Linked DNA regions of Homo sapiens: all the other regions are linked to region 4. The links are contacts of gene promoters, found by promoter capture Hi-C in blood cells and fetal thymus (Javierre and others, 2016). All regions are on one chromosome and are shown on one strand. Each heading gives the region's core, a stretch centred on a gene start or on the middle of the fragment in contact. The rest is flanking DNA. Distances are from core to core; before and after follow the strand shown. Region 1 holds the start of LINC00529 (long intergenic non-protein coding RNA 529). Region 2 overlaps CLN8 (CLN8 transmembrane ER and ERGIC protein). Region 3 overlaps XKR6 (XK related 6). Region 4 holds the start of MCPH1 (microcephalin 1). Region 5 holds the start of TNKS (tankyrase). Region 6 overlaps TNKS (tankyrase). Region 7 has its middle 2.9 kb from the start of XKR6.

Region 1 (3,901 bases), core at 346-2,845, 4.9 Mb before region 4:
TTCACCAGGCCTAGGACTCGGCCACAGAGAACCCCTCTCCACAGGCCCAAGGACCGCCGCTGCCGTTGGGCTCCGGGTCCCGCGTTGGCAAGCGGAGGGCAGTAGGAGAAAGCCGCCTCAGAATCCGCTTCCACGCCCTGGCCGCTAGGGACTCCTAGCGGAAGTGGCTACTCGCTGCTGGAGCCCACAACAACTCCGGGCGGAAGCAGCAGGTCTCGAAACTCGGAAGACGCGGAAGTCGCAGCCGGAAGTTGGTCCTCGCTAGGTCCTCTGGAAATGCCTCCGGAAACACAGCCAGACCAGAAGATGTGTGTTCCTACGAGAAAAAAAGCTTGTCTTTGCCTTCACGCCCTCCCGCTGCCTTTCTTAACCACCTACAAATATTCCTTATCAGAAGAGGTCCGGGAAGAGGGAGGAGGTCCCTGTCTTGCCTTCCTCCGCTTGAGTAGTATCCCCTCCAGAAGCTCTTCAGAGCGTGGGGCTGCTGTAAATTGTGATAATTGTTATGCATTAGCCCTGAAGACATGGCAAGTAGGGGATGGAGGCGGTGACTGTGACCTTACGGAATCCTCCAGGGGTCAGGGAGGGACACAGGGCCACTCCACAGGCTCTCCGAGAGCGCCGCGCCACGAGGTGTAACCTGGAGCAAGAAAGAGGAAAAACAGGAATACCTGTGAGAGGAACCCAAGTACATGCAGTGCACAGAAGAGCAAGTCACTTGACTTGCTGGCGGCCACCCCGTTAATCTGCAGCAGAGCCTGGACTTCAGTCTGCATCTGTGAAACCCAGCGCATGGGTGCGTTGGTCACCACCGCACAGCCTCCCCGTCAGACACCCACGTTTCGCCAAAAATTTATTCAAATAATTACTCCTTTGCTTGTTCCTTTCCCACCGCCCACTTCTGACATTTTTATTCAAAAGTAGGAAATAGAAGAGAAATATGTTTGAGTGCTGGTCTGCTGTGACTTCATTGACCTTTTAAATCCTCACCATCTAGTACCTAAGCACAGCGAGTTGGACAAACTCTCACAGTATTCACAAAGTAAATTGCCACAACCTCATCAGCTCATCCAACACTTGTCCATGCTTTTGATTTTGTCCTTCTTAAAATGTACCCTTCTTAAAATAAACCACTTTATAGACTTGTTTTAAGTGAGATACGTAAATGCCTACCAACTTTCCTTGGTGTCTTTGTTGCATAGTTACTGTAGACTGAATAATAGTTGCCATTTTTTATATTTTTGCAGTTTAATTGCTTTCGTCCAAATAGATGGAATCACTTCCTTTGTAATATATGAAGTGTTTTAATTCATTTTTATAACTAGCATTCCTGACAGCACAGGTATCCACCCCCTGAAGTTCCCATTCTATAGAACAAAATAGCAAATAAGTATTTTTTTTTTGTTCCATAATGGACACCCAGTATACACCCAGTATACACAGGGACACCGCATACAGGGAATCAGCTTTATTTTACAACAGAGCTTCACTTTACCCCTCTGGCAATTAATAGATTCTGGGTATTTATTAAGAACTTTAAATTTAATGCAAAGACTGTTAAATACCACCAGCTCAGCTCTGGCAAAGGACTGTTGGCTTTGTTTATCTCCTATCTTCATCCAGATACACTGCCATCCCTATCCCAGCCCGATCTTGGGTCCTTGAAAAAAATGACCTATCATTCCAACTACCAGGGAGGAACTCCCTTTGAATTAATGAATCTGGATGACTTATAAGACTTCAAAAGTATGGAAATGACAAAGGTTAAAATGACAGGATGAGCAGTAAACCCTCTCCAGTCCAATCAGAGCAACCTTTTTGAGGGTGCATTCCCACAGAAACCCATTAGGGGCCCAACATCAACATACACAGAGCTAAAATTCCAGATGCCACTTTGTATTGAAAGAAGCCAAAATTCTGTTCAGGTCGTGGGAACTTGAAGTCTTCAATGCAACCACACCCCAGAAATTAACCCTCACACAATCATGTAAGCTATGCAATTAACCAAACTGCATCGTTTAGAAAACCTGTATGCTTTTCATGGAAACCATCCCTAGTTAAGGGCACTTTAAAGGATGCACAGTCTAAGTACTGTGAAGGTGGGCCCACTAGCTGGGTTGACATTTTCGCTTGGCCACTTTAGTAGGAAACTTAACCACTTGGGAAAGTGAAAACAACAAGCTAACCCACATGTTCACCATGGAAAACAATTTTTGTCTTGAAAAACAAGGAACCTTTTCCCTGTGCAGCACCAGTTCCTACTGTGTTTACCAGCCAATTGGACTGGAACCTGTACACTTGGTTTTTAGCCTCCGAAATCAATATAGCTCCCGGCCGGGCGCAGTTTCTCACGCCTATAATCCCAGCACTTTGGGAGGCCGAGGCAGGCGGATCACCTGAGGTCAGGAGTTCGAGACCAGCCTGGCCAACATGCTGAAACCCTGTTTCTACTAAAAATACAAAAAATTAGCCGGGTATGGTGGCGCACACCTGTAATCCCAGCTACTCTGGAGACTGAGACAGGAGAATCACTTGAACCCTGGAGACAGAGGTTGCAGTGAGCCAAGACTGAGCCACTGTGCTCCAGCCTGGGTGACAGAGGGAGACTGTCTCAAAACAAACAAACTATATATATATGTGTATATATATATATATATTTAGAGAGAGAGAGGGAGAGCTCTCAACAACCAATCCCTCATTATACCTTTAACTGCAACCGCCAGACACAAATGAGCAATCCAACTCAAACGCCTTTTTGTTGGGCTAGGAATAACAGTGAGAGCAGGAACGGGAGTTACCGGGCTTGCAACTTCCCTATACTGTTACCAGCACTTTCCAAGGATTTTGTGGAAAGCTTGGATGACATTGCCCAAAGTATCGTCACAACACAAACTCAAACAGACTCCTTGGCAGCAGTTGCTTTACAAAATAGAAGGGGACTGGATCTCCTAACTGCTGGAAAAGGTGGCTTATGTCTTTTTCTAGAGGAAGAATGCTGTTTTTATGTCAACCAATTAGAATTAGTAAGGGATGCCACCCAGAAATTAGCTGACCAGGCTTCTAAGATACGACAACAGCTGTCCAAGTCGTGGTCCTCCTGTTCAAAAATGCTAATTAGGGGTTCATGAGTCCTTCCTCTGACTGGCTCGTTGTTAATTATACTTGCCTTGGTTTTTGGACCATATTTATTAAATACATTAACCAAATTAATTTCCTCTCGCCTAGAGACCATCAAGCTTCAGATGATCATGCAACAAGGTTTCCAGCCAGTTCAGGTGAAGACACCACTACTGGCCATCAAGAAGCTACCCTGTATCCACTAGACAGAGCAGAGTGAGAGTTCTGTGATCCCAAATAGGTAGGCACCGCACCCCAAGTCAGCATGAAGCAGTTACAGAAGAAAGACCATTGGTCCCTCTGCCTCCCATAAAGATTTATGGGGATCATGTCTCACAGCGGGAAAATGAGACAGGAGAATAGGGTCTAGAGGCAGGGAACCTAAGGCCAATTCTCACTGACTTCCTAGAACTGAATCAGAGGGGAAACCCCACCTCTTCACACGAATGTAACGAAAGGATCAGAGGCTACTCCCTTTGCACTGCACTGCAAATGAAAAATGGAAAGTACCTCTGATTGGTCCCCTCCCACAACCATTCAGACTGGTTGCAGGCCAAGTCTTCATGTGTAACTTTGTAACTACCGTCACTTCAGACTCTGATTGGTCACCTCCCATGATCAGTCAGACTTGTGACGGGCCACTCCTTCATTTACATAGGGTGTAACCAAGTAACCAATGGGAAACCTCTAGAGGCTATTTAAACCCCATGCTGCACGATGGCTCACACCTGTAATCCCACCACTTTGGGAGGCTGAGGAGGGTGGATCACAAGGTTAGGAGTTC
Region 2 (3,789 bases), core at 1,078-3,577, 4.6 Mb after region 4:
GTCTGTTTCTCCATTAACACTCCAGCTTTAACACAGACTAGCTCTGTTTGAACACAAATCTGATGTGGGGAAAGACAGCACTGGTACTCATGTTTCTCCCTAGAGAAACGGCTCCCGTGTCATGCTGCCCCTGGTGCGTGAGTTCAGGGCACACAGGCGTGCTCTCTGATAGATGCTATGGATGACAACTGAGGGGCTGCCATGCCCATGTGTGCCCTCGTGACCCACACTTCTGGTCATGCTATATATCAAGACTCCAGTGTACTTACACATCTCCAAACACATTTCTGTTAACCTGTTGACAAATCAGGTTGAACATGGTATTAAGGGGCTGGCAAGAGCACTCGGCTCTGGTATTCAGTGTGCAGCAAGGCATCGTTGAACCCCTATGCACTTCACAGGAGCAGATCAACTTCAAGTGCAGCCTAATGCCTGGAGGGGAGACCGCTTACCAGCATTAAAGAAAAGCAGGCTGGGTGGAAAGGACAGGTATCAGGCAAGGAATAGCATCCATTACAAGGGTTAACGTGAACAACACTGTTAAAGGTTAAAATATGGACCCCTCGTAAAACTTCTCCCTGTACTTTTCCACGAGTAGGTCATCAGCTCTGACTTATAGGTCCCATTTTGCCACAGTTGCATCAATGTCCGCTTGGCCAAGACCACTAACTTCTGTAGGACCTCTGCCTTGAGACGAGAGAAACCCCGACTCCAGAAGGCTCTGCCCAGATCAATGACTCAAATCCACCTCAGTGGAAGTGGTGAGCCCAAGTGATGCTTCAGGAGGTCTTTGGTTTGGTCAAGGTGAGAGGGACTCCAGGACATGAGAACCAAAAACCAAGAAGAGCGGCTGGCTTAGTGGGCTCTGATCTTGATTTCACTATTTAGGAGCTAAGAAACCAAGTTTCAGGCTGGGTGTGGTGGCTCACACCTGTAATCCCAGCACTTTGGGAAGCCAAGGTGGGTGAATCACTTGAGGTCAGGAGTTCAAGACCAACCTGGCCAACACGGCAAAACCCTGCCTCTACTAAAAATACAAAAATCAGCCAGGCGTGGTGGTGCGCACCTGTAATTTGAGCTACTCAGGAGGCTGAGGCAGGAGAATTTCTGGAACCCAGGAGGGTGGAGGTTGCAGTGAGCCGAGATCACACAACTGCACTTCAACCTGGGCAACAGAGCAAAACTCCATCTCAAAAAAAAAAAGAAAGAAAGAAAACAAGTTTCTTTCCTAACCACCCTGGACCCCAGAATCTGACTACAGGAAAAAGAAATACACAGAGCAGGCCGAGTGCAGTGGCGCACGCCTGTAATCCCAGCACTTTGGGATGCCAAGGCAGGTGCATCACAAGGTCAGAAGTTCGAGACCAGCCTGGCCAACATGGTCAAACCTCGACTCTATTAGAGATACAAAAAATTAGCTGGGCGTGGTGGTACATGCCTGTGATCCCAGCTACTTGGGAGGCTGAGGCAGGAGAATCGCTTGAACCCGGGAGGTGGAGGTGGCAGTGAGCTGAGATTGCGCCACTGCACTCCAGCCTGGGTGACAAGATGAGACCCCGTCTCAAAAAAAAAAAAAAAAAAAAAAAAGAAAGAAACATACAGAGCAGCGGGAAATGAAGCACCTACTACAAGCCAGATGTTCAACTAGTTTGTGTGATCTTCACCATAAGAGCAAATAGCTACCAGGTCTTCAAGCTTTCTAGATATCTTTTTGGAGAGATTACCATATCTACAGAAAAGTGGCAGATAGGTGAAAGACATGGAAACAGAAACAGGTAAGCCACAGCTGAGTGGGCAAACCCTCCTGGCAGTCAGAGAACAGGTGCCAATTAGGGATGCAGAAACAGCAGATTATAAAGACCAGAATGCTTACTTCCCCTTCCAGTCCTGTAGTGAATCCCCCATTCTGATTCTTTGCTCAAACCTCCTGACTTTCTGGGTAAGCTGGTGCTGTTCTAGTCTAACTCGTTACTGTGGGTCTCTGAGTTTAGTTAATGCCAACCAGCATCCTCCAGCCAGGAGTTCACAAAGGAGGTGAACTCCTCAGCTCTCTCAGCCATGAGGGTAGAAGGCCAGTCCCAGAGGCAGGATCCAGCCCAAGCGCCCAGTCTTCCTGGAGTCCTGCAGAGCTCTGCTGTCCTTTCGTGGCATCAGCGTTGTACTGAGAACAGCTGTGGTTCACCCCAAGTCACAAGGTGGGCACCCACAGAAGTGTGGCTAGGCCTTGTTCTGTCAGGCAGCACAGAAGGGGTATGGGAAGAGCTCAGCTTCTCCTTTTGCTTCTATTTCTGCTCCTTGACCCAACCACACCCTCTCACTCTTGATACGCAAAATGGGACACAGGGGTTCCCACTGTTCCCTTGCTGTGCACCATAAGGCTCAGGCCACATGAAGGAGTCCTTAAGTGTAATGCACAGCTGGAAGTCACTGTTCCTTCCATGGGTAAAACTGGAGGCCGAATCGGCCGGGCAGGGTGGCTCACACCTGTAATCCCAGCACTTTGGGAGCCCAAGGTGGGAGGATCACGAGGTCAGGAGATCGAGACCATCCTGGCTAACATGGTGAAACCTTGTCTCTACTAAAATACAAAAAAAAAATAGCCAGGCGTGATGGCGAGCGCCTGTAGTCCCAGCTACTCGGGAGGCTGAGGCAGGAGAATGGCGGGAACCTGGAAGGCGGAACGTGCAGTGAGCTGAGATAGCGCCACTGCACTCCAGCCTGGGTGACAGAGTGAGGCTCCGTCTCAAAAAAAAAAAAAAAAACAAAAAACTGGAGGCCGAACCTAATGGACTCATCTGGTTCTTTCATTCTGGAAGGCTTCCAAGCCCTTCCACACCAGCCCCTTTCCTCTCTGCAGTAGAGGAAGTGGAGCCGGAGAATAAACAACTCCTGGAAGGCCACCATCTCTTGACGCTGCAGATCTTCATTTTCTTTGGAGAAAATGTATACAAAAAGCTTGTCTTATAAGATTCTGTGGTTTCAGCTCTTCTATTGCACTGGGCCATGAAGTTTTTTAAAAATCTGAATGCAAACACATCAGTAAGAGTGTTAGCTCTGTTGCTGCAGTGTGACCAGGAACCAGGCTCAGTGGCCACTGGAACCCTTCGACTCTGTCATGCATCTATGCGCTCCTCCGGTTTATGGGGGCTAAACTGCTATGGATACCAGCATTTTTGTTTTTCATTGAGATAATTTATCCAAACTTGGAAGTGACGTCAAAAGGGAAAAAAAAGGTTGCATGCTTTTTTCCCTGCTAACGCAAGTTCAGTGTTTTACAACCCCAACAATCACTTGACTTTCTAGGAGAAATAACTAAACTATTTACCACTGATTGTGGGTCACGCATTTTACAATCTGCAAAGCTAATTCTCCTTTCCATCAAGAAGAAAAGACAATCCCAAAGGCTGTGGTTTCAATGCACACAGGATATTCACCAATCTTATTATCTAATCTGGCAATCTTCTCTCAGCATTCCTGTTACCCACTCACTAAGAAAATCCTAGTTTTGTGTATTCTCTTTTGAACTGACATTCCTATCCTGCTGTATACTGCATTAATGACTGAAATATAACCTGACAAGAGCTATTTACATGAGAATTATACTTCTAACATTTTGAAAATTATACATTGATGGGTTGTAAAAATGTTTTCCAAAATCAACAGAAATACATGTTTAATACACAAAATTCAGAAAATATAAACAAGCATAAAAATACAAAAATAAAAATTTACAATCCTCTTACACAGCTCCAAGCACCATCACTATTTTTTGGTGCCTGCTGGGTCAAT
Region 3 (3,841 bases), core at 793-3,292, 4.6 Mb before region 4:
ACTTCGGGATGTGCCATGTCTTTGGTATAGGGCTGCGTGGTGTTGTGACGCATGTGAAGAAATACATCCAAGGACCTTCCTAAGCTCATCTGCAGCCACAATTCCCCCACCCTATTCTTCTCGTAGGGTTTTAAGTTTGCTGTCTGCAAATGTTCCTCATTCCGGAGTCTTTGGGAACCAATCCACCTAGCTGGAGAAGGACATCGTACCCTGGTAATGAAGACAGGCATAGAGAGGCACAGGGTTCAGGAGGGGACAGTCAGCACCGCAGGTGGCTCCGCAGCAGGTGAGAAATGATCCGCAGGAGGCCTTCATGGAGCCAGGGGAAAGACTCTGCTCCCAGACATGCTGAAGGCAGAGTTAGCAGTCCCTCGCTGTGGGGTTCCTCAACCCTAAATAAAGGGGAACAGGCCAGACCTTTATGCCACCTCTCACCAGCTCCTCCTCAAGTGGCCCCCACAGATTCTAAGATAGAAAATCTCTTTAGAAAGCAGTCCCAGGTGGCACAGTGGCTCACACCTGTAATGCCAGCACTTTGGGAAGTTGAGGAAGGAGGATCCCTTGAGCCCAGGAGTTTGAGACCAGCCTGGGCAATGCAGCCAGACCCCATCTCTACAAAAAATAAAATTAGTCGGGTGTGGTGGCACTGCCTAGAGTTCCAGCTACTCAGAAGGCTGAGGTTAGAGGATTTCTTGCTGTGATCATGCCACTGCACTCCAGCCACCAGCCTCAGATGACTTCGGGGGCCTGTGAGGTGCCTCACTGCTTCCAGGGCAGAACAGGGTCTGGGATCTGCAGAGGGTTCTAGTGCCTGCTCTGGGAGCAGCCCTGGGTGCAGAAAATGCAGGGCCAGCTCAGTCTAGGAAATGGGGACATGGAGGGAGGGCCCTCCCCAGCTTTCCACCTGCCCATTTTCTCACCGCCAGCTGACTCAGTGATTGAGACGAGTTCCTGTCTCTGGTTTTGTTCGGCACATCAGAGTCTGCGACTGAGCCTTTGGTCTGGAGTTTGAGCAAACTGGAGCTGAAATTGCCTCGACAGATACCTTGGAGCGCTGACACCGCAGCACCAGCCCTGCTGTGGCCAGGAAGGGAGGGAGGGGACTGCCTTTCCTGTGTGTCTGTGGGTCACGGCCTTGAGTTAGAGCCCCGGGCCTCCTGCCCTGGGACGTGGAGGACCTTACACAGGTGCCTGAGGAACTAAATGTTGATCAATGAAATATTTATAACAAATAAAAAAGTGGAAAATATTTCTCTGCTTTTGTAGTCTGAATGGTATAGTTGAAAAGACCCAGCTTTAAAAATAAAAAGCTTGGGTCTTGGTTCTACCACTTACTAATTGCAGGGCCTTGCGCAAGATAACCTCTCTGGGCCTCAGTGTTTGCATCTGTAAAAGGGGAATAATGTCACCCTTCTGTGGGTCGTAGGGATGGAAAAAGATGACACTGGAGGAAGCGCATGCATTCTCCTCTGCTCCTGCCGCCCGCTTCACCCATTGGCTGCTGACTGAGTTTGGGATTTTGACACTTAGTCTTTGTCCCATTCATGTGTCTAAGACCTAATTTCTGGTGTTTGTATAAGGTCATTTTGTGGTCTCCCACTTGGAGTGGGCCCTCTGCCTTGGACCCAGGGGGACTGCTTGGACATGTTTGAACAGCAAGAGAGTTTTGGGTCGCTGCAGGTAGAGCATAAGTACCTGTGTCCACATGTAAATCTGCTCTCCCCTAGCAATGGCCATGATCACCCAGGTGGAACAATGGGGCTTGGTTACAGCCCATGCACCTTTCCCAGGGATGCTAAGGCAACAGCACTCTGCAGCATCTTTCTCTGAACTGTTTGTGCTACTGGCACCTACTGTTTTGTGCCATAGTTACATGAATGAGAAGGGTTGGACCTCTTTAAGAGAGGGCCCCTTTCTATCTAGGATGCACTGTCTGTGGACTGAAAGCTCTCCAGGGCAGGGGCTTCTTTGGTTATATTTCTGAAAAAGCTCCCCAGTGGGCCATGAACTCCTTCAGGCCAGTGCCTTTGTTTCTTCCCCTTTGTTTTCTGCAGTGTGCAGTCCAGTGCTCAGCTGGAGACAGAGGCTAAGGAAATGCAACTAGAAACACAAAGTAAGCAGCTGGTACCAGCCAGCAATGATGGTGGGAGGAAAGTAGGAAGGAGGAAAAAGGTTTATATGGAACAAGGCTAAGTTCAGGAAGCCAAGGTCAGGGAGACAGGCTTACCCTAAAGTTCCTTGAGGGCAGGGATTGTGTCTTATCACGTTAGTATCTCAGGAGGCTGTCAGTCTTAGCATAGTTGAATGAAGCAGGAAAGTGAAGAGAGAACATTTGAGACTCTGAATGGATGAAAAGAAGCACCAAGAATATATAGCAGTCATGATCTCTGATGTGCTTGACAACAAAGTCTCTATGGACTCTGGAGCGTTTGGGATCCTGTGTGCTTTGGGCTCCTGGGTCCTGAGCAGACCCAGCCACTGCTCTCTGAGCTGGGTCTGTTTTCTGCTTGAAAGGGACAAAAGGCTAGAAGCTACTAATGAATTGTGCTGGGCCCTGAAGAAAGAAATGACTATCCATTTATATTTGTGTTATGAATGTAAACCATTGCTTAAACAAGGCAGTGTCTCTGTCCATGGGTTTATACATTATACATTAAGCTCATCCTTAATCCGATGGAACTTATGGAATCCAGCAGCAGCTAGAAACTCTCAGCAGTCCATCACTTTAGCTGTACCCCTTGTTCTACTCCAAGTGCAAGAAAAATCTAAGCTTTTTACCCACATGAGTGTAGGAAGAGGGAAGACAGGGTTCTGTATAACTCTTCCTCTCCCTGTGAGACCTGCAGTGCCTTCCTGTAAGAGGCTGCAGTGTCTTAGGACACAGAGTTTCTGGTCTGAGACTCTGAGAGAAGCCCAAGATTCCTTCCTAGGACAGCTGTTTTATGGAGATGGTTTAAAATCTGAGGAGACTAAGGCTTGACGTATCTTAAAGCCAGAAGCATTTGCCTCATAGGACCCCCTAGGGTCCCTTTGTAAAAGGTGAGCCTGAACCCCCATTTCCCAGGGCCAGATTGCATCATCTCCACAAGTAGCTCACCCTTAGATAGTACCTACTCTGTGCCAGCCACTATGCTAAGCAATTCACATATACTGACTCTCTGATCATCACAACAGCCCTAAGAGATAGTTACTCATGTCACTGCCATTTTACAGTGGATGAAACTGTTGCACAGAGAGGTCACCTGGCCTGCCCAAGTGCACACAGCAAGTTTAGGGGGAAGCATACTTCAGTAAGGATCTCAAAATTTACATTCTAGACCCTCATATTAGGAAAAAGGCGTAAGAGTTCAAAGTTGACCTGAAAAGCCATAGCCCATGAATGCCAATCAAGGCCTCCTTGGCTGAGATTTTGAGGACCAAAGGAGGGAAAGGAAGCTCTTAGGGGCTGGGGTGTTCCCTTCTTGGAAGCACCCAAAGGCTTCTCTCTGTCAAAGCCCCAACTCACCGATACATGTGTGATACTTCCCAGGCTGCAAGCACATTTCTTTCCTCGATGGGTTCTTACAAGCACCCTAAGAAGGACGGGGAGAAGCAGCACCGTTTACAGGTGAGGTCACAAGGAACTTAGCACAGGGCTTGCCACATCATTGGGACTCAATTCTTATTTGTCAAATGAATTACTGAATGACTAGATATTTGGATGGATGGATGGATGGATGCATTTCTGGAGGGATGGCTGAGTGACAGGAGAGTGGACTTGTGCTTCCGTGTCGGGATGCACAGACGGTGTCGGCTTCCTACACTGAAATCATATGAACTCTGGCCAAGCCCTGGCTCCACT
Region 4 (3,783 bases), core at 1-2,500:
CTTAAAAATGTAAAAGACATTCTTAGCTCGTAGACCCTTACAAAAACAGGCAGCAGGCTAGATATGGCCTGGGGGGCATAGTGAGTGGACCCCTGTTCTAGTGGATATCCTCTTCTCAAAACCTGATGTTTAAAAGCATTTTCCAGGTGTGCCGTTGGTCAATGATTGGGGGTAACGCTAAAAGAAAACCAGGTTAATTTAACAAAATACTAACATTAGAAAAATAGCCACATCTGATTACAGACTTTGTATAAAGCCTCTAGTCTTTACTTTTGGCTATGAGGTTTTATGACTCCAGGCCCCACAATACAGGCCCCTTTTTTCTCACGGTCAAACTCTACAAGACACGTGTCCGCTATTCCCCTCTCCTGGGCTCTTCCAGGTGCACAGAGGGTGGGACTGCGTGCGGTATCATATACTGGTTAGGACAGCAGCTCCGGTCTAAGGCCCTGTCAGCACTGACTAGCCACACACAGGGAGAGTCACCTAAACGTCCGATGCCTTAGTTTCTGCCTGTAAAATGATATAAGAGAGTTGATAGAGCGGTTAAAAAAATCAGACAATACCATACTAGCCTAAGCACAGCGCCTGGCACACAAAGACTCCGCAGTAAAAGGCGGCTCCTATTATTGGAACAATTAGCATAGAAACTCAACTGCCGCTCCTCCAGGTGGGCCTCAGAGGGGGTCGAACAGGACCAGACCCAGGAGGGCCCCACACCAACTTCCGGAGGGCAGGACTCTGCCTGCCAGTGAGCCCCAGATCCAGGGACTAAGGCAGCAGGGGTGAAAGCAGGTAGGGGGAAAGGCGGGATTTGGGGGACAGGCAGCATGGGGGAGGGAGCAGGCAGCGGGGGATTGAGGGGAACTAGCAGCACGGGGGTTGGGGCACAAGCAGTACGGGGGAGGAAGCAGGCAGTCGGGGGTTTGGGGGGACAGGGAGCACGGGAGACGAAGCAGGCAGCCGGGGGTTTTGGGGGGACAGGCAGCGGGGGAGAGAGCAGGAGCAGGGGGTTTTGGTGGGACAGGCAGCGGGGGAGGAAGGAGGCGGCAGGGGGTCTGGGGGAGACAGGCAGCGAGGGAGGGGCGAGCGGGGCTCCTCCCACGGGATCCCCCGAGTGCGCCCGCGACGAGGGGTGCCGGTCCTCAAACTCCCGCTGCTGGAGCAGGCAGCAGGAAGTACCTCACCTTTCAGGATGGGGGCCGCCATGACAGACGGCGGGATCCGGCCAGCTGGCCTACGCGGTGCTTGCGAGCCTGGCGGCGCGCGCGGGCACTGGGCATGCGCGGGGTGAGCGCGCCGCCGTCACCGCGCTCCGCTGAATCCGCGTTTCCGGGATTTCTCTGTAGGTGAGGCGGGAGGCTGGAGGGAGCTGAGCCCCCGGGGAGGGGGCCCGATTCCGCCTCGCCGCGCCTCTGGCTGCTGGGCCGTGGGTTTTTCTCTTCTCCTGGGAGTAAGGAGGACGACGGCCCCTAACCCCTGAATTAGCCTTCTATTTCCATTAGTGACTTAGAAGCTACCCGGCGCCTCATCTGGGCTCACCTGAGCTGAGGATCAGGAAGGGGAGGGGGCACAGTCATTCCCTCGCGGACGCGGCGGGACCCCAGCGGACGGCTTTGTGCGGACTTTCGGCACCGTTATGCCCCCCTAGCCCGACACCACCTGGGGCTGGCGCGCCACGTTACTGTTCAGGGCCAGACGCACCGCCCTGCCTGCTCCGGGGAGCCGGACCTCCGATCCCGGGGATGGGGGACCCCGAGACCTCAGACCCAACGGAGGGGACTCTGATACCTCAGACCCCACGCGGGGACCCCGAGGCTTCAGACCCCCACAGGGTGACCCCGAGATCTCAGACCCCCGCAGGAGTACCTCCAGACCTCAAATCCCCAGTAAGGGAATGAAAGAGACTTCGGATCCCTGAGGCAGCAAATCCCTGTAGGGGCATCCCAGGACTCAGGTCACCGCGGGGTGAACCCAGACCTCACATTCAGGCAATCCCCAGGACGCCGATCGGCTGGCACTACCCACTGTCCCGGCCACCCCCCCTGGAGCTCAAAGGCTTGGCCCTCCAGCTGCTCCACCCTGCCGGCAACCAGGCTCAAACCTGCAGCCCGCGGATCCCCTGCCCCGGAAGCAACCAGATTCGCGGGAGGTTACCTGACTGATCCAAGGTGATACAGCTGGTAACTGATGGAGATGTTGGTAGTGAAATTCATGTACTTTTAGTTCTTTCTATGGAATCTAGAGGTAGAATACATGTAAAAGAATATCGACTACCGTCTACTCAGGTCTCTGTTTTATCTGTTTATTCATTCACTCTCAGCTTTTAATAGGATCCAATGAGCCCTCTGTGGTTCTGAAGAATTGCCTTGAGTATATGCAGCCTCAAAAAACCCACTTCCTAGGCTCAGTCTTTGATCAATATTTATCATTATCACCAGTTATTGTTCTAATAAACTCTACTCTGGAAATATGGTGTTATGGTTTACTTGGGAGTGTGAGTTCAGGGCATCATTGAAGACTCACGTACTTTTACTGAGAAAGTGACATTGATCTCTGTAGATTTTGAATTAAATGATATGATGAAGTATATAAACCAATTACTTTTGGTCAAGGTGGTAAAAAAAGTTTAGTATTTGATAGATTCTTCATCTCCACGATCACAAATATTTTCTCCTAGGATTTCTTCTAGAAATATTACTGCTTTAGGTTGTATATCAGGTCTAGGTTCTACTTTTTTTTTTTTTTTTCTCCAGGCAGTTTCTCACTCCGTTGCCCAGGCTGGAATGCAGTGGTGTAATCACAGCTCACTGCAGCCTCAACCTACTGGACTCAAAGGATAAGATCTGCTTTTAATTAATTTTTGTATACGGTATGGGATAGGGACCAAAGTTCATTTTTTTGCATGTATACATATCCAAATGTTCCAGCATCATTTATTAAAAAGTTATTTTTGTCTCTACTGCATTTCCTTTGTGCTTACATCAAAATCTGTGTTGCATATGTATGTGTTTCATTTTAGGCTTCCTATTGTGTTCCATTGAGCTATTTGTCTTTTTGCTGCCAGCACCATGCTGTTTTGATTATTGTAGCTATATAAATAAGTGATGAAATCAGATAGTTTATGTCCTACAACTTTATTTTTCAAGGTTATTTTGTATCTTCTAGATTCTTCAGATTTCCTTTTAAATCTTAGAGTCGACTTCTCATTTTGCACAAAAAAATACTGCTGGGATTTTGATTGAGATTGTGTTGACTCTACAGATGAATTTGGGGAGAATTGACATTTTAACCATATTGAATCTTCTGACCCATTAACATTTAGGTCTTTTAAAATTTCTCTGGCCAGACGCAGTGGCTCACGCCTGCCACTTTGGGAGGCCAAGGCGGGCCGATCACAAGGTCAGGAGATTGAGACCATCCTGGCTAACACAGTGAAACCCCATCTCTACTAAAAATACAAAAAATTAGCCGGGCGTGGTGGCATGCGCCTGTAGCCCCAGCTACTTGGAAGGCTGAGGCAGGAGAATGGCATGAACCCGGGAGACAGAGCTTGCAGTGAGCAGAGATCTTGCCACTGCACTCCACCTGGGGCAACAGAGCGAGACTCCATCTCAAAAAAAAAAAATATAACTGTTGTTAGATTTTAACCTAAGTATTTGTTTTTTTATTTTGTTTTTCTTTTTTTCTTCTTTTTTTTTTTTTTTTTTTTTTGAGACAGGATCTCACTCTGTCTCCCAGGCTGAAGTGCAATGGTGTGATCATGGCTCATCTTGAAGCCTC
Region 5 (4,231 bases), core at 956-3,455, 3.1 Mb before region 4:
CAGTTGCGTATGTGACAATGTAAAATGTATTTCTAAGTATGGGCTACAATAAAAAACATGTGAAAGCTACTCTCTTGCATATAAGCCCCTCCGCATTACTACTTCTCCCAAAAATTGGGAACTCTACACTTCAATTACTCACAAAAATGAAAAGTGACCTTAATCCAGGGTTCTGACAGTTTAAGTTTGATTTCACAAGCTCTAAAATCAAACTGCCTGAATTCAAACTCAATTTCCACTATTTCCTGACTGAATTTGGACTTATTTAAGCGATCGATATATGCTTCACTTTTGTCATCTGTAAAATGGTTAATCATATCTCCCAAGTGTGGTAAAAATAAATACTACAGTGGGTCAACACATGTTTTACTGTTAACAGAACAAACTGAAGAAGTGATATATATATATATTAGAAATATAGGAGAAACTTAACAGAAGTTATCTCTGGTGTGTTATCTCTGATGTTTCTGTGTGATGCCTTTCATTTTGTATTTTTCTGTCCTATTTGAATTGTATAACGTACAATATATGTATTTCCAATATAATGTTTCTAATGTATAAAACATTATTACCTACATTTTTAAAATATCAACAATAGGTATCCAGGCAGTGAGATTATGGTCCTTTGTTTTTATTTTACAGTTCTCTTTATTTTATAAACATATTATTAGGTGTCTTTGAGAGAAAATCATCAACTACTTGCAAAAAAAAAAAAAAAGACAAGTGTGGGGTCCAGAGCTTAAGAAATTCACACTTTTTGAGGGAGAACTTTGTGCCAGATACTTCTCACCAAATGCTCGCACAACATCATTTTATGATTTTTGCCCATGAGAAAACTGAGGCAACTGACACGAGGTAAATGGTCTGCTAGACAACAAATAATAGTGGCCACAACATCAAAGCCTATATTTCTTCCATCATCATATAATGCATCCAAATATTCTTCTCCAGTTGTTTCACATTGGCATATTTTGGTCTCCCCGTCTAGACTGCAAACTTCTTTAGAAGAAGGGAAACTTTCAAACACTTCATTTATGTCTTTCATTGGGTTATTAAGGCTACAATAGATCCTCAAACATGTGTTGGGTTGTATTAAACCTCTTTTGGTCTGGACTGTCCTCAAAGGACATACCCTTGTAAAAACAAAATAAACTAGCACACAAACGACAAAACTACTCTAAAGCTGTCCAAATCTAACTGTATTCCTGCACACCAAAAACTAAAGTGTAAATATATCCATATGCAGAGACTACCAACTACAGTGAGTTTTGTAATGAGTACTGTGCAACCACTGAAGAATTCCTTGGATTCACTTATCCCCCCCAACCACGCCCCCATCACCCAGGCACCACCAAAAGAAAGGAACCTCCAGTCTTCTGGTGAGGTGATGAAGAACCATAACCACGCCCCCACTTTGTCCCATCACAATAACCTGTTTTCTTGTCCTAACCGGACCCTGCACCCAAACCCATAACCCTTAATAAACAATTCAAAAGTCTCTGACCTGCAGCGAAGTGCAGGGGAGAAGACTTCCGGCCGGCCATGTCCTTTGCATTTACGTTTGCCGCGTCCACCAGCCTCTTTACCCGGGACACGTCCCCATTGCGACAGGCCTCCAGCAGTTCCCGTAGGGCCCCGCTCACTGCTGGGACCCCTGTCCCAGGTCCTGCTGCCCCAGGCCCCAGTGGTGCTGTGCTGCTAACTCCGGCCGCCTCGGGGCTCTCCGCCAAGCTCGATCCAGGGGAGGATGGAGAGGAAGATGAGGAAGAAGTCGGGGAAGAAGAGGACGACGGTGAATTGTTACTGCCACTGCCGGCTGGGTTGGGAGCGACCCCAGCGGCAGATGAAGTAGAAACCGCTGGGACCACGGGAGCGGCGGCGACGGTACAGATTGTGCTGGTGGTACTGCAACAGCTGGTACCGTCAACCGGGTCCGGGGATCGGGGCCTGTCGGGCGGATCCCGACTGCCATCCCCCTCCGGCAGCGCTAGGCCGTGCCGCGGGGAGGCGAAGGGGGCCAGGCCGCTGGCCGTGGGAGAGGCTGGGGTGGTCCCCGGGGCCAGGCCAGGGCTGAGTGGGGGAGGAGGTGGCGGCGGCGGCGCTGAAGCCCCTGGGGCGGGCTGGAGCTGTTGTTGATGATGGTGGTGATGATGCTGAGAGCGACGCGACGCCGCCATCTTCGGACTCCCCTAGCACTGTCACTGCGGCAACGGCCCCCACCGCCCGCCCTCACTTCCGACTGTCGGACCAATCAGCATCCAGCGCACAGGAAATGATGCTAGGCGGGGTAGCAGGGGCCAAAGAGAAGGAGGGAAGTATTGGGAGCTCAGAGAACAGCCAAGGGAACGGGGCGGGGCTTTGTCACTGAGAGGCGGGCTTTGTGACGTGGTGGCGGGCCGGCTGGAGAGATTTGAATGCTGGAACCAGCTTCTGCCTAGATGGGAAACATTTCCTGCATTTCTCACTTTCAGTCGGCTTTCTTTGCCCTGCTCCGCTCTGTTTCCCTTAGTCTCCCTTTGCTTGCTCCAGAGCCAGCTGTTGAGATGCAGATCAGAGCAAGCAGGGAATGTGTCCGTTATCATCTATTAAGCGTCCTTGTCTGAAAAATGGAACTTATAGTACCAACCTCACAGAATTATTAGCGGGATTAAAAGAGCTAACAGACAAAGCGCTCTGCCAGTAAAACACAAGTATAATTAGCCCGTTGGTAATTTTTTAAATTATAGTATTTCTTTTCCAGGTGTCCCCTTGAGCTCTTGTCCCTTCCCTATAATTTTTCTCACCCTATGTGCTTTAATTCCTCGTTTTTAAATGCTGGTTCAGATTGCTAGGATTGGCGTTCCAGCTCTGCCATTTGTTGTTTATATATGTACTTGCTATTTCATCACTCTATGCCTGTTTTTCTCTGTAAAATTGAAATAACAATAGTGCAATAAGTGTGAATTATTAAAATTATGATTTTTTTTTCCTATTCTGCTCTCTCTGAAATTTTATTTTTCACCCTAAGTGTAACTAATTATGAATATATTCCTTTCTTTTGAATTCTGGCTTAGCTTAGCCTCTCCCACACCCGAAACAGATAAAAACCTGATTGCTAGGCTGGTCACGGTGGCTCATGCCTGTAATCCTAGCACTTTGGGAGGCCGAGGCCGGCGGGCCACTTGAGCCCGGGAGTTCAAGATCAGCCTGGCCATCACGGCGAAGCTCCATCTCTACAAAAAATACACAGATTAGCTGGGCAAAGTGGCACATGCGTGTAGTCCCAGCTACTCAGGAGTCTGTTGGGAGGATCACTTGAGCCCGGGAGGCAGAGGTTGCTGTGAGCCGAGGTCACACCACTGCACTCCAGCCTGGGTGACAGAGGGCGGAGACCCTGTCACAAAAACAACAAGAAAACATAACAAAAACCTGATTGCTGTCCATTACTCACCATCAGGTGCTATTTTTCAGCAACTGCTTTTTCTGTCTTTCCCCCAACCTATGTATACTTTTGTTTTTCTACTATCAAAAGATGTATCCATGAATGAGATAATCCCATTGAGGACTCCATTTCATACCTACTGTTCAATAGTAAAGCAGGCATTGTAGAAGTATACAGAAACAGCATTATTCCAATAGAGTGGACACAGATGGAAATTCTGTAAGAGAAACAAGATTTAGATGAGTCAAGCAGAATATTAAACTAGGTGATAAATTGTTTCATGTGTTCATTGTTAAATATGATTTATGTGATGTTAATATTCCCATTTAAGTAAATAGATGAGTTTATTTGGGGTTAGTAAGTAAATACAATAAGGTCAGGAACATAATTAGTATTACGAGTGGCATTTATTTTCATCTAATCTGGGGTTACAGATTATAATTCTTAACATTATCCAGCTGTGTGATGAAATGTGCCATTGTTCGCAGTAGACACCGGACAAAAAGTGTAGCTGGATAGGAAAACTCACATCAGTGCAACTAAAATCAGTCCACAACATTCTTCTTCATGCTTCTGTTTTTTAATCTTAACTTCTTGATGTACAGCAGAGAACCATTGAGAAGTGGGAGTGATCCAACATGATATGTTAGATATCCATAACACACCATGTGTCCCCTAAATAATGGCCTCCTGGAATGGGAGGCATAAGAAATATCTCATCTGGTCTCCCAGTGGTCAGTTACTCATAGAAAGTAGTGATGTTCAGACTTATTCAAAATGCATCTGTTGTGTCTATCAGTACAAAAAATA
Region 6 (3,741 bases), core at 559-3,058, 3.2 Mb before region 4:
ATTTCACAGAATTTAGAACTAAGGAAGCTCTTCCTTTAGTCTTTGGGCTGTTCATTCAAAAAACATTTTCTAAACACTTAATATGTGCTGTGCAACAGTGCTAGAAACACAAAATAAATATGACAAGACTTATCCAGGAACTCACTTTCCCCTCAGGCTTCACAACACAAAACTGTATATAGAAACTCATCACTACATTCATAGAAACAAGGGTTATTTAAATACTGCTGATAAGCCGGGCGCAGTGGCTCACACCCTCACAGCACTGTGTGAGGCCGAGGTGGGCGGGTCACCTGAGGTCAGGAGTTCAAGACCAGCCTGGCCAACATGGTGATACCCCGTCTCTAATAAAACCACAAAAATTAGCCAGGCGTGATGGCAGGCACCTGTAATCCCACCTACTTGGGAGGCTGAGGCACGAGAATCGCTTGAACCTGGGAGGCAGAGATGGCAGTGAGCCGAGACCACGCCACTGCATTCCAGCCTGGGCAATAGTGCGAGACTCCTCAATAAAATAAAATAAAATAAAAATAAATAAATAAATACTGCTGATAACCGAATCTAAGACAAATCACAACACACAGCATTGTATTAGGGAAATTGGGGATGAATGTATGGGTATGAGAAACACATGGTGAACGCTTGGTCAAAGGGAATTTTGAAAAGGAAGAACTAAAGATGATGCCAAAATATCTATTCTTGGGGCTAGTGGCCAAACTATATGAAATGGGTGGTGAACTGGAACAATTCAAGCTTGGATTCACTTAGTTTGAGGAAACGATATGGCAAATGAGTGGGAATACAAGCACTTGGGAATATAAAACCAGAATTTTATAAGAAGTATCACAGTTTTCAGACAAAAATGGGGGTTTAGGGGGAGTCAGAAAGAGTCTCAAGTAGTCTAAGGATGAGGCAAACACTTAGAAAGGTAAGAAATACTAAGAAAGCACAACATCAACATCGTGGAAGTCAAGGAACAACAACATTATGCAAAGTCCAGTACCATGAGGATTTAATGAGATCAACGGAGAAGAAAACAATGGCCATTGGTAATATTAAACTAATTTTAGTATAGTGGTAAAATTACAAACTAAATTGCAATGGGTTATAAAAGGAAACCGCAAATATTCGCATTTTTATATTCACAAGCTAGAATCTTAATTAATGATTCTTTCCCACTTTAAATTGTATTAGGTCTTATTAACTAGGTATCACTACCTCTACTATTATTGTGTAATACTGTTACAAAATGGCATCTTAAATAAAAATAAAAGACAGTAAAAGAGTCACATCTTCCTTTATTTTGGGCATATGTTAAACAAATAAAAACCATGTGGAAAAGAGTAAGGGGAAAAAAGAAATTTATCTCAAGATATGTCTTCCATGCTATCTATAGAAATTCATTCATTCCAGAAAAGCAGGCTCTAAGAAAAAGTCTCCAAAGTAAAGCATACATTTCCACAGATATGTATTACAAAGTCAGAATGAGGTTTCCGTAGAAAATATCCTTAAAAATTAAGCTGATAATTTTAGGTGAAAAGATCAATTTTGTATTAGTAACTGAATCAGTAAAAGCATAGGGTACATGCTCAAGTAAACTGTCAGCATCTTACCAGGGTTCCTGGTTTTGTTTTTTAAATACCTGCAGAACTTTACGGATGTTAGGTTTTCTTTAATTCTCTAACTTCGACTTCCTTCCCTCTACCATCAATGCCCTACTCTTCCACTGGGCCATAAGTGCTGTCCTGACCCAGGAAGGTTGAATTATTCTCCTTCTCTACGGATCTGAATAAAGCCTGAGTGCAAACTTCCATTTCCCTAATCAGCACCAGCCCTTGAGAGCAGCCATGGGAGCTGACTCCTGCAAAGCCACAGGGGTGGAGCCGCCCAAGGCCTTGGGAGCCCACCCCTTGTGTTGGTGTGGCCTGGATGTGAGCCGTGGAGTCAAGGGAGATTATTTTGGAACTTTAAGATTGAACAACTGCCCTGCTGGGTTTCGAAGTCCATGGAGCCTGCAGGCCCTTTGTTTTGGTTGATTTCTCCCTTTTGGAATGTGAGTATTTAGCCAATGCCTGTACGCCCACTGTATCTTGTAACTAACTAACTGGCTTTGATTTTACAGGCAGAAGGGACTTGCTTTGCTTTGAACTCTGGACTTTTGAGTTAATGCTGGAATGAGTTGAGACTATTGGGGACTATCGGGAAGGCATGATTGTATTTTGAAATATGAGAAGGATATGAGATTTGGGAGGAGCCAGGGACCAAAAAATTTGGTTTGGATTTGTGGCCCCACCCAAATCTCATGTCAAATTATGATCCCCAGTGTTAGAAGAGGGGCCTGGTGGTAGGTGAGTGGATCATGGAGGCAGATTTCCCTCTTGCTGTTCTCGTAATAGTGAGTTCTCACAAGATCTGGTTGTTTAAAAGTGTGTAGCACCTCCTCCTGCTCTCCTCTGCCTCCTTCCCTGACCATATAAGACATGCCTGCTTCCCCTTCACCTCCCGTCACGACTGTGAATTTCCTGGGGCCTCCCCAGCCATGCTTCCTGTACAGTCTACAAAACTGTGAGTCAGTTAAATCTCTTTTCTTTATAAATTACCCAGGCTCAGGTAGTTCTTTATAGCAATGCAAGAACGGACTAACACAGCCATTATAAAAACATTTTTACCATTACTAAAAAAAAAAGTCAAAATAAATTTCCTTGTACATTTGTCCTATTCATTTAAGATAAATGCCTCAAAGTAGTAGTACTAGATCAATAGGTATACATTTAAAATTTCACATGTTGCCAAGTTGCCCTCTACCAATTTTCATTTTCAACCAAAATCCTCGTGACCATTCCGTGCACATTTAAAAGCTTTACAAAGAGGCAAAAAAAAAAATGAATTGTTATTTACATTTTTCAGTTCAGATATTTGCTTTTTTACTGTTGAAAACTAAATATATGAATACAGTTGAACTCTTACCCTCAATCCTAGTCCCCTCTTTGCTTCCCCAGAGGTACTATTACATAAATTCAATGTTTGTTATATCATGCAAATTATATACTTTTCAATGTGTGTTTTTTAAACACTTGTGTTTCTATATTTATATTTTATACATTTCATGTTATTATTTGTATATTATGCATTTCATATTCTATGTGATTAGAATATATTTCATATATTCACATTATTTTTGTCAACTTCATATGGTTCAATCTATATTAGTGGAAGGTTGATAACCATAATCCATTCTTCTGGCTGATATGGTTTGGCTCTGTGTCCCCACCCAAATCTCATGTTGAATTGGAATCCCCATGTGTTGAAGGAGGGGCCTGGTGGGAAGTGATTGGGTCACAGGGGTGGTTTCTAATAGTTTAGCACCATCACCCTAGTGCTGTCACATGAGTGAATTCTCATGACATCTGGAGATTTAAAAGTAGGTGGCAACAGGGAGGTGGAGCTTGCAGTGAGCCGAGATCGCCCCACTGCACTCCAGCCTGGGCAACAGAGCCAGACTCCATCTCAAAAAAAAAAAAAAAAAAAAAAGAGGGGGGTGGTGGCACCTCCCGCTTTCTGCTGTCTCTCTCCTGCCCCACCATGATTGCTTCCCCTTTGCCTTCTGCCATGATTGTAAATATCCTGAGGCCTCCTCCCACCCATGTTTCCTGTACAGCCTGCAGAACTATGAGTCAATTAAAACTCTTTTATTCATAAATTACCGTCTTAGGTAGTTCTTTATAGCAGTGTGAGAATGGA
Region 7 (4,120 bases), core at 619-3,118, 4.8 Mb before region 4:
CTTGAATTGGGAGGGCATGTGGGAAGACAAACACAAGGCTTTAAGTCCTAGAATCCCACTTTGTCTGGGAAGGCAATCATATTAGGAACTAAGGAACAGAGGTCTACAGTGTTCTATTTCCCATCTCACACTCAATCTGGGGACATGTGCTCTATGCTCATTCTCGGAAGTGGCCTGTATGATTTGATTTGCTATTGCTTGATCTTCATTTTCTTTTTTTTTTTTTTTTTTTGAGACAAGGTTTCACTCTGTTGTCCAGGCTGGAGTGCAGTGGTGCAATCACAGCTCACTGAAGCCTCGACCTCCTGGGCTCAAGTGATCCTCCCACCTCAGCCCCCCAAGTAGCTGGGACTATGAGTGCATACCACCATGCCAGGCTAATTTTAATATTTGTTTTTTCAAAGACAGAGTCTTGCTATGTTGCCCAGGCTAGTTTCCAACTCCTGGTTTCAAGAGATCCTTCCGCCTTGGCCTCCCAAAGTGTTCGGATTACAGGCGTGAGCCACTGCACCTGGCGATCCTTATTTTCTTTTGGTTGGGCATGATTAGTTGACTCCACACACGGTAAGTGTACGTATGATAAAGTTACACTGTACTCTGCTCTTTGGGGAGTAAATACATGAAGCTTTTTATCCTTACTTAGACAATACAGTGGATAAAAATATAAAGAAGCTCAAGAAGGGTTTAAATCAATTCACAGATGTCGGAGTTATAACTAGTTTTTAAGAGACAAAAAACTTCACAAAATACTCCTCAGTGATGTTGCTGTTAGAGAATACAGATGTACCTACCCCCGCCGATTCTTACCGATCTCTGTGACACTACATATGGGTGCATATTCCCTGCGACCTCCCCAAACTTCCCCCCAAACATTTATTATCTTTCTCCCATCCTTGTTCCTACTCACAGCATTTCTCTCCACCATTACCACCACCCTACAGGTAATCACTTTGTTTCTTAGGTCTCTTTCCAGAGTTGCTTTATGCAAATACAAACAAATAAGAAAAGATAACCTTATCTCTTCCCCTTTCTTACAGAAAATGCAGCATGTTCTATTGTTTTGCACTTTGAGTTTTGTGTAACAAAGCATCCTGCAACTCTTTGTATATCATTAAAAAGAAAACTATCATTTTTCAACATCACTGCACCATATTCTGTTGTGTGGATGTACCATAATTTATTTAACTAGTTCCCCTTTGGGTGGACATGTGGGTTTTTTCCTTCCATTCTTTCTCTCAATTGTAAGCAATGCTACATGAATAAACTTGTACACACATACTTTCTGACATCTATGTATTTATCTGTAAGATAAAGTCCCATAAAAGGGATGGCTGTCTCAAAGGGTACCTGCATTTGAAATTTTGGTAAGTAGTGCCAAATTCCCTTTCATAAAGATTTTACCATTTTGTACCACCAGCAACAAAGTATGAGAGTGCTTGCTAACACTTCAATTCTTAACATCGAATACAGAAATGTAGCTTCCAGGGATAATGGGTTCTATGAGCTTACTCCTCAGCACTCAAAGAAGTCCTGTTTCTATAGAAGTCAATAAGATACAAGGCACAGAATTGATGAGGATGACATCCACCTACTCTTTTGAAGCTTTATGTAGGCTCAAACTAGGAAAATCTTACGAAAAATGTATAAGACAGCCTCTTTGTAATGCTTTTGCTGAGGCCTATCCCCATATTGGAATTGAGGTGTTCTGTTTCCTAGCTGCATACCAGCATTGTAATAGGGTCCCTACTCTGACTAACACAGTAACACTAATTTCATTTGGAAGTGCCAGTAGCTGCCTGGCCCAGGACAATGGCAGGGTAAGTAGCAGGCTTTGGAATTACACCTGCCTGGATTCTAATCTATGGCTCCCCTTACCCATGTGACTCTGGGTAACTCATTTGGCAGACTCGAGTCTGTTTTCTAGACCATTAAAATGGGAATACTAATCCTCATGCGTTTTTGGACTGCCATATAATTAAAAGGAGTCACGTATGGGAGACTGTTTAGTACATAATAGCATTCAACACTAACTTTCCTTTGTGCCTTTCTGAAAATAGAGAATTGGGAAGAAAAACCCCAAAGGGCTTCTAAACATTTAAAATTTATGTCACAATTTCTGTATGTTAAAGCTTTTTAACTTTACTCATAGAAGAGGCTCTAAAAATCTATTTAGTATTATTTTACATGTAACTCCAACATGCTTTGTTATTTGGCTTCTCTGTCTATATTAAAGTGTAAATACAGGGGCCAAAGTTGTTAATTAACTGAATAAACAAAGAAAGCAGAGATTAAAAAATACTGTTAGAAAAAACCACCACTGCTACCACCACCACCACCAACCTCAACAACAGTTGGTGCTTAGCAGGCCGGCACAGGCACATAAATAGTTAGAGCCTCTTAGCATAAGGCCACTTCAAGGTCAAGTTGTCAAGAAAAGGTCAACTTTCTGCCTGATGTGCAGAGCACAAGCCAATGGGCAATGCATTTCTTTCACTTTCCCCCCACTTTAAAGTTTTGAGGTATCTCCGTAATGATTGAATTTTATGGAGGTTTACATCATAAAACGTAAAATACATTTTTTTTGGCACTTAAAGGTGAAATTTCAGTTATCTGGAAAATTAATTTGCACTAATTTAATCAATACTTATAGAGTGCCCACTATGTGTTCAGCATTGTGCTAAGTGCTGGCTTACTTGGAACAAAAATCACCCCCAAAATTCTAGGTAAAAGTGTGCCATCCAAAGCACAGTCCAGATTTATGTTAACTTTTCAGTGAGTCTTCATGAGAGGTTTATTATCATTGTAACTGATTTTAGAGCCTTCTGGGTTCCATAATGTATCCTTCTTCCAAAGAAAGTAGAAGGACAAAATTGTTGAAACAGCAAATGTAAAGTTGAAGTCACTTGACAGTCTGAGAATCTTACATATCTACTTGAAACTTCAATTGTAATAAACACTTTTGACTCATAAGCTCATTTGTCAGCCTTATATAGCGAGTGTAATTTACTTAGCTAATTTCACTAGTTTATGTTCTTTCAGGGCACACAGAAATAGGAATCATAAATACACCATTACTGCCCGCTTTTGTATCTCATTTCACAGCCTCGTAGCTTAAATAGAGAAAATATATTTGAAAGCACAAATTAATTGCACCTATTTTCTAGAAGTATTTCAAAATGCTTTCTTTTATTAGAGATACCAAATACACTCAGCGATAGAATTTAAGTAGAAACATGTCAGTATTATGCAAACATAATAATAACAACAGTAATAATAATAGCAGTTACTCTCTAGTGCTTAGCTGCCTATCAGGTATCATATTGAGATCCTTGAAAGGATTACCACCTTTACTCTGCCCAGCAACTTTTCAGAAAAGTCACTGTTGTTATTTCTATTATATCAAGGTGAAAACTGAGATTTGAAGAGGTAATCTTGCTCACATTATTCATGTTACTATTTTAGTGAAATTGGGGTTCATACCTGGGCAATCCTACTCTATATTTATGCCATGTAAGGTGTTATTCATTCAAATTCAGCAAAGAAACAGAATCCCATCTATATGCAGAAATAATCTTTACCTGCTGGCCTTAAGTTTTACTACCATAGGGAGTATGAGGCTTACATATGAGTATGAGTTTTACATACCATAGGGAGTATGAGGCTTAAATCATAGCATGAAATACATGGATACAGTTATATGGCTGGTTTCTAAAAGTTGATTTTGGAATCACTCCCCTCTTCCCAATGTATGGGAGTAAAAATTCACTATTAGTAATTTTTCTAAAGTCTTCAGAGATTTCACACTGGCATATATACTCATGAAAAGCTGTGTCCTAAAATGTAGTATCCCCATCTACCCTGCCACTCCCAAAACTCATAGGTGCCATAGTATTCAATAGTATCAAAGTAACTATTGAAGTTGTCAAACGCACCTTTCTGCCATAGAACCTCCAGCCATATAAATATTACCTAATTTGTACTCTTAACATTCTAAAGACAGTTATTGGCATTATTAGAAGACTTTAGTGAATGGAGAAGTAGACAGAATCACAAAAATGAGTTCAAAAATCTAGGGAAGTCAATGAGAAAATTCAGGGATTTTTTTCCCCCTCATTCTTTT

Evidence for each region. The method cuts DNA at HindIII sites, captures the fragments that hold promoters and counts their contacts. A CHiCAGO score of 5 or more calls a contact.
Region 1: a fragment that was not itself captured here is called in contact with the fragment with the promoter of MCPH1 in region 4 in 1 of 17 cell types (naive CD8 T cells); the score reaches 5.1 in naive CD8 T cells.
Region 2: a fragment that was not itself captured here is called in contact with the fragment with the promoter of MCPH1 in region 4 in 1 of 17 cell types (naive CD8 T cells); the score reaches 7.6 in naive CD8 T cells.
Region 3: a contact is called between a fragment that was not itself captured here and the fragment with the promoter of MCPH1 in region 4, in 1 of 17 cell types (total CD4 T cells). The highest score is 6.1, in total CD4 T cells.
Region 5: the fragment with the promoter of TNKS here is called in contact with the fragment with the promoter of MCPH1 in region 4 in 1 of 17 cell types (naive CD8 T cells); the score reaches 7.4 in naive CD8 T cells.
Region 6: a fragment that was not itself captured here is called in contact with the fragment with the promoter of MCPH1 in region 4 in 1 of 17 cell types (naive CD8 T cells); the score reaches 5.2 in naive CD8 T cells.
Region 7: a fragment that was not itself captured here is called in contact with the fragment with the promoter of MCPH1 in region 4 in 1 of 17 cell types (non-activated CD4 T cells); the score reaches 5.4 in non-activated CD4 T cells.

What each region holds. Positions count from the first base shown.
Region 1 is chr8:11,280,746-11,284,646 of GRCh38, reverse strand. LINC00529 (long intergenic non-protein coding RNA 529) reads left to right here and starts at 616. Exons shown (of 5, transcript NR_170283.1): 1 at 616-796; 2 at 3,226-3,358. RefSeq lists silencers at 1-152, 3,645-3,694 and enhancers at 1-347, 623-682, 773-862. The HindIII fragment of the contact is 2,523 bases long and covers 334-2,856 here.
Region 2 is chr8:1,765,364-1,769,152 of GRCh38, reverse strand. The region is part of intron 1 of CLN8 (CLN8 transmembrane ER and ERGIC protein); the gene reads right to left. Among named protein-coding and RNA genes, the nearest start is that of CLN8-AS1, 2.7 kb to the right of the region's middle. RefSeq lists an enhancer at 1-10. The HindIII fragment of the contact is 1,260 bases long and covers 1,698-2,957 here.
Region 3 is chr8:11,020,220-11,024,060 of GRCh38, reverse strand. All of the region lies in intron 1 of XKR6 (XK related 6), which reads left to right. Among named protein-coding and RNA genes, the nearest start is that of MIR598, 13 kb to the left of the region's middle. The HindIII fragment of the contact is 1,460 bases long and covers 1,313-2,772 here.
Region 4 is chr8:6,404,094-6,407,876 of GRCh38, reverse strand. It overlaps MCPH1 (microcephalin 1), which reads right to left and starts at 1,250. Exons shown (of 14, transcript NM_024596.5): 1 at 1,188-1,250. The coding sequence starts at 1,209. MCPH1-DT (MCPH1 divergent transcript) reads left to right here and starts at 1,329. Exons shown (of 2, transcript NR_040040.1): 1 at 1,329-2,171; 2 at 2,757-3,783. RefSeq lists silencers at 989-1,168, 1,429-1,508. The HindIII fragment of the contact is 9,682 bases long and covers 1-3,783 here.
Region 5 is chr8:9,553,886-9,558,116 of GRCh38, reverse strand. TNKS (tankyrase) reads right to left here and starts at 2,205. Exons shown (of 27, transcript NM_003747.3): 1 at 1,505-2,205. The coding sequence starts at 2,177. RefSeq lists enhancers at 1,201-1,860, 1,861-2,522 and a silencer at 1,943-2,102. The HindIII fragment of the contact is 11,121 bases long and covers 1-4,231 here.
Region 6 is chr8:9,576,257-9,579,997 of GRCh38, reverse strand. The region is part of intron 1 of TNKS (tankyrase); the gene reads right to left. Among named protein-coding and RNA genes, the nearest start is that of TNKS, 22 kb to the right of the region's middle. RefSeq lists an enhancer at 2,405-2,524. The HindIII fragment of the contact is 2,105 bases long and covers 756-2,860 here.
Region 7 is chr8:11,202,713-11,206,832 of GRCh38, reverse strand. No RefSeq gene overlaps it. Among named protein-coding and RNA genes, the nearest start is that of XKR6, 2.9 kb to the right of the region's middle. The HindIII fragment of the contact is 527 bases long and covers 1,605-2,131 here.